Linked DNA regions of Homo sapiens: region 2 is linked to region 1. The links are contacts of gene promoters, found by promoter capture Hi-C in human tissues and cell types (Jung and others, 2019). All regions are on one chromosome and are shown on one strand. Each heading gives the region's core, a stretch centred on a gene start or on the middle of the fragment in contact. The rest is flanking DNA. Distances are from core to core; before and after follow the strand shown.

Evidence for each region. Contacts are between HindIII fragments. The study calls those that stand out against the background at their distance.
Region 2: a fragment that was not itself captured here is called in contact with the fragment with the promoter of GLO1 in region 1 in 1 of the 25 tissues and cell types used here (dorsolateral prefrontal cortex).

The regions. Positions count from the first base shown.
Region 1 is chr6:38,701,887-38,704,829 of GRCh38, forward strand. It overlaps GLO1 (glyoxalase I), which reads right to left and starts at 1,259. Exons shown (of 6, transcript NM_006708.3): 1 at 1,085-1,259. The coding sequence starts at 1,168. RefSeq lists enhancers at 401-993, 1,026-1,075, 1,096-1,195, 1,376-1,535. The HindIII fragment of the contact is 19,947 bases long and covers 1-2,943 here.
Region 2 is chr6:37,356,580-37,359,745 of GRCh38, forward strand. The region is part of intron 1 of RNF8 (ring finger protein 8); the gene reads left to right. Among named protein-coding and RNA genes, the nearest start is that of RNF8, 4.2 kb to the left of the region's middle. The HindIII fragment of the contact is 4,796 bases long and covers 1-3,166 here.

The DNA.
Region 1 (2,943 bases), core at 9-2,508:
CTGATGACTTCACTGGAATAAACAGCGGTTACTGTGCCTGAATTTTTTTTTTTTTTTTTTTTTAGACAGAGTCTCACTCTGTCGCCCAGGCTGGAGTGCAGTGGCACGATCTCAGCTCACTGCAAGCTCCGCCTCCCGGGTTCATGCCATTCTCCTGCCTCAGCCTCCCGAGTAGCTGGGACTACAGGCACCCGCCACCACGCCCAGCTCATTTTTTTGTATTTTTAGTAGAGACGGGGTTTCACCGTGTTAGGATGGTCTCTACCTCTTGACCTCGTGATCCGCCCGCCTTGGCCTCCCAAAGTGCTGGGATTACAGGCGTGAGCCACCGCGCCCGCCAACTGTGTCTGATCTTAACAAGGCAACCGAAACACCACACCTGAGTGAGTTACACTGATTCTTACCCAGTAAAGACATGTTCGGTAAGTGAAAGCCTTTGTATGCAACAGGTCATTTCTCTTACTGGGTCATTACTGTAAAACGAGAGGGTAAGAGAAGGAATTTCTAAGATTCCTTTCAGATCCAAACTCTATGATTCTGTAATCTCTCCTGGGCCCCACGAAGATGAGGAAGGCAAGAAGGGCTGTTGTGACCCACAGCAAAGGCCAAGCAAGCAAAAGTGAAATTCTGGGCGCGGTTAAACTTAGAGCGATCAAATTAGTTTGCAGGAGTTAAGACTGCAGTCAGGGTGGTAAGGAAAAACGAGGCTGGGCAGGACTGGTACAGGACAGGCATCTTTGAACCTATTTCTGGGAGTTCTGAAACTACTGTTCTCGTGGGCCTTGGCGACTGATTTGGGAAAGCTGACCCTGGGTTGGCCTGGCTTCCAGCCACCGTCGCAACATAAACAAGCCAATTCAAAACAGGGTCGCAGTCTTTGAAACTAGCTGAGGCAACAGATCCCCTCCACACTTCGCGGGCCCCACGATCGCCCCATCAAACACCATTATCCCTCTTCCCATCACACTCCCGTCCGCCCGAGGCCGGCGGACCTGCAGCGGCGGCGGGATGGGGTTGGATAGAATGCGGCCCGGTCCCGGCCCAGCGGAGCTGGGGGAGCCGTTCCCTTCGGTCCTGTGCCCACCTTGGTACTGGGGTCCGCGTCGGAGCAGCAACTGAGGGCGGCCTCGTCCGTGAGGCCGCCGGACGGGGGCTGCGGTTCTGCCATGGCTGCGCTGCAGTATCACAGACGACGGGACCCAAGGAACGGAGGAGTCACCCACACTACGCCTCGGCCCTGTGCCGCCTTAACTAGGAATGGCGCGATGGCGCCGCGGGCGGGAGACCGCTGACTTCCAGCCAATCGCTGCGCGGAGAGCAAGTTGACTCTCTGCTGATTGGGTCCCAGTGAGTCAGCGCCTCCACCCACAGGACTATGCCTCAGACTACAACTCCCAAGGAGCCTTGCGCATAAAGGAGGCAAACTCATACAAAAAAAAAAAAAAAAATGCAGGCTGGGCAGAGTGGTTTCTCTGTTACTTAATGAGCTAATTTTGTTTGTTTAACTAAAGTTTGGTAACCATTCATACCTCAGGGCTGCAATTTGGTAGAAAATTGGAATCTGATGGAAACTGAAAACTGTAAGTTGTTCTTTTAAAATTGTAAGGATTCAGAGGTTTCTCAGTTTACGCAGCGCAGAGTAATTAAAACAATTGTTGAGTCGAAAACCTATGTTCAAGTCTTGGTTCCGCTATATATTAGCGCTAGAAACTTGCAATAATTACTGACCCTCTCTGAGCTTCCTAACAGGATTTGTTGAGAATTAAATAAGTTTTCTTTTCCTTTTTCTTTTTTCTTTTCTTTCTTTCTTTCTTTTTTTTTTTTTTTTAATTTTTTTAACAGTGTCTCGCTCTGTCGCCCAGGCTGGAGTGCAGTGGTGTGCTCTCAGCTTACTGCAGTCACTGCTGCCTCGACTTCCGGGGCTCTAGCTGTCCTCTGGCCTCAGCCTCCCGATTAGCTGAGACTACAGGCTGCAAAACCAAGACCAGTTAATTTTTGTATTTTTTTGAGATGGGGGTTTCACCATGTTGCCCAGGCTGGTCTCAACTCCTGGGCTGAAGTGACCCTCCCGCCTCAGCCTCCCAAAGTGCTGGGATTACAGGTGTAGCCACTGTGCCCAGCCTAAATGAGATTTAAGTCATGGTTTGCCTACTTAGGTTCCAAATGTCCATAACTTGCAGTACTTTTTACATTAATATATATTTTGTGTTCACTGGAAGGCTTAGTCATCACTGTGTCTTCAATGATTGGCTCATAATAGTAGATGCTCATTAAATACTTCCTGTTGTTAAAAGAATAAATGGGAATGACTGGTGCTCACCTAACCAAAATGAGGTTGGGCAGGGATGTATATGGCACTAGCCACCTGGCCACCACCAAGATGTCCCCGTCTCTCATCTCAGCTTTTTTCTGCATCGCAGCTTCAGTTTGTCAGACACCAGCTCCATAAGACTAGAAATTTGGCAGCTGTTCTCTCACTAGGAGTGGGAGTAAACTCTCCCTCTGGATTTTATCCAGCCAGCCTGGATTTTATCAAATTGGAAAATCCAAGAAGGAGCTGTGATTGGCCTGGCCTAGGACCTGTGCTTACTCCTGTGATTGAAGCACTGCGATTGGCAACCTGGATTAGGACCACCTGATTGGAGTTTGGGGAGGATCTGTTAGTTCCCTAAAAGAAGAGCGATGATGTTCTTATGAGAAGGGAGGATTGCCAGGCAAACTGAACCATGGATGTCCACTGCAAAATGATAGGCAGGATAAGGATTTCAGCAGAAATGTTGTGCATACCTCATACTAACTTACTGAGGATATTTCATCAAAACACAGTCTATTAGAACTGCAGGACTTCTATATGGAACTAGACCTTAAACCTTTTAAACTCGGGAATTGGAGCAATACACAAACTCTCCATATACTGTGTGTTACCACTGAATTATTGAAAAG
Region 2 (3,166 bases), core at 450-2,949, 1.3 Mb before region 1:
TTATTGCAAATTAGCTAGTTCTCAGGTACTATAAAGTATCTAGGCCTTTGGGGAAAACAACAGAACCTTCTCTCCCCTTTTCTTCTCTTGTATTTAGTTTTCATTAAGTTTTCTGCCCCAAGGGAAAAAAGGGAAAGGATGGTTATATTTACTGGTTTGGGGGCTTTTTTGTGGGGTGTTTTGTTTTGAGACAGAGTACTCCTTCTGTCACCCAGGCTGGAGTGCAGTGGTGTGATCACACCTTCACCTCCCTGGTTCAAGTGGTTCTTCTGTCTCAGCCTCCGAAGTAGCTGGGATTACAGATATGCACCACTATGCCCAGTTACTTTTTGTGTTTTCAATAGAGGTGGGGTTTCGCCATGTTGGCCAGGCTGGTCTCGAACTCCTGGCCTCATGTGATCCGCCCGCCTGGGCTTCCCAAAGTGCTGGAATTACAGGTGTGAGCCACCACACCTGGCCAGATTTACTTGTTATTTGAGAAACAGTAGGAATTGTGCCCAGGAGGAAAGAGATAGTCTTAGTGAAGGTGGGCAAAGACAGGATGATCTTTTAGATCAATAATGTGTGTAAGCTCAAAGGCTTGCAAAACTATTGTAAATGAAAACAACCCCTCACATATGGGTCGTCAGTCAGTTCCCACGGGAAATTCAGTGTTATGTTGAGTGGTCCTGAGATTTCCAGGTAACCTCACTGCACTCTTTAACTACAGTATAGGTGAAATATCAGTAGTACCAAGGTAAATTCTAAGACCAGGCAGTGCAGGGAAGGATGTAAAAGAATGATTCCTTTTTCTGGGTTCAGAGTCTGTTGGAGGCAATGTCAGGAAAAGGCACTCTTCTACTGTTTTGGTACTGTTTTCCCCTGGCTACTCACAATGGCAGTCTGGCTGTCTCCCCTCAAGTATTAGCATGTAATATGAGATGCTTCCTCTCTTAGAGATAAAGCTACCTAAATAGAAATTTTACTGAATATGGACGACAGATAAATCCCTAGCCATTCCATTTTTAACAGATATGTGTATTCAGAGGAACTTCTATAATTAATATAATTCTGGCAGAGTGTGAAAGAACTGAAAAACTTTGTGCTCAGTGTTGGTGGAGTGATCACCACAACATTTTAAAGAGAAACAAGTGAGACTGTATGAGTTCCAACTGCTGCTCCATATTTTCCAATGGTAATACAGTCTCTAACTTCTGACCTAAAAACACCCACCCTAAAATCTTGAGGACTCATATGCAAGACCTCTTTATTCTTTCATTCATTCTCAAATACTTAACTGAACACTATGCCAGGTATAGAAACACAGTGGTAAACAAGACAGATAAAGTCCCTGCTTATCTAATTTATATTCTATTACGGGGACAGAGGGGAAAAGTAAAATAAACAAGATAATTTTGGTCTGTGATAAGTACTTCCTAATAACTGAAGAAATATGATGGGAAGCAGACAACCAACTTTAGACAGAGGTAATCAGAGTAGGCTTATGAGTAGCTGGAACATGAAAGATAAGGAGCCTGTGCAAGATCTGAGAGAAGAGTGTTCTTAGCAGAGGGGCTAAGTGAAAAGACCCTCAGGTAGGCTGGCACTTCGGGGAGATGGGCTTAAGGAACAACAACAACAAAAAAGTTTGAGGGGCTGGAGCAGCTAGTGTTGGCACTATGGTATGAGTTAAGACTAAAGAGTAGAAGGGCTCAGGACATTCAGGGTCTTATAGGCCATGGAAGGAAGTTTGAATGATTGGACAGTTTTAAGGAAAGAAGGAAAATGACCTGATTTAAAATTTTTACATTTCTATTCCAGTTACTATTATAAAGCTTATGGGGGCTAGAGTGAGAACAGAAACAGTAGGAGGCCAGGTGGTTTGGACTAAGGCTGTGGCTGCAGAGATAGGAATGAACAGACTTAGGACATATTTGAATTATAGCCCATATAATTTACCAGTGATTTCAATGTGGGGATGAGGGACAGAGATGAATCAAAGATGGCTTCTGGGTTATGGGTTGAGTAGTTGGTTGGATAGTATTGTGAATACTGAGATAAGAGTTTGTGGGGAGGAATAGATTAGGTCAGTGAGTCGTGGTGGTCTTTGAGGGACTGAGGAGGACAGGCATTCTGAAAGATTTTAAAGAGAAGAGAAGAGGGCAGTTTTAGCTAACTTTGGTTTAAAGTTCCCAGTTAAGGTTGTGATATGGGACATTAAAGAGGTCGTTTGTGCACTAAGAAGAATATGCAGGGAGCCGGGCGCGGTGGCTCACACCTGTAATCCCAGCACTGTGGGAGGCTGAGGCAGGCAGATCACTTGAGATCAGGAGTTCGAGACCAGCCTGACCAACATGGTGAAACCCCGTCTCTACTAAAAATACAAAAATTAGTTGGGTGTGGTGGTGCGTGCCTGTAATCCCAGCTACGTGGAAGCTGAGGCAGGAGAATTGCTTGAACCCGGGAGGCAGAGGTTGCAGTGAGCTAAGATCGTGCCACTGCACTCCAGCCTGGGTGATAAAGCAAGACTCTCTCAAAAAAACAAAAAAAAATTAACAAACAAAAAAGAATAAGGGAATTCTGTGATCTGGAACTCAGAAGAATTTCATTTCCTTCCTTCACAGGGTTGTTATGAACTAGACTGGTCCAACAGGAAAGTATGATAGATGTGAACTGGGGCTTCTTTTCAACCTTTTCCGGAAGCTCTCAAGCTGTTCTTGTGGATAAGACAGAGAATATGTACTCCAATGCAAAGACTTTTGGTTGAATTATAACTGGCTGAAGGTATATCCAGATGGTGTGGGTTAATGTTTACTAGGTTTTCCTGAAAACTTTGCCTTTGGCTGCATCCCATTCTGTGTCTTGAACGAAGGTATAGAAGGCATCATCTCATAAATTTGGTGGAAGAGATATTAAGTATGTCTGATCTGATGGCAGATTAAAAATTCAGAAAGGTCTTGACAAATTGGTTTGATAGGCTGAACTAGCAAGATGAAATTTAATAGGAATCAATCTAAGGTCCTGCGCTTGAATCCAAGGTTTTCCATCCAGTCAAGTATAGAGCAGAAGAGACAGGACTTAGGATAGCATTTCTTGGAGGAGGGGGAGACCAAGAAATTTAATCATTCCTAAGTTCGAGGATACACTGGCAGTGTACTAGATCTGCTATGAAAGCTAATGCAATTTA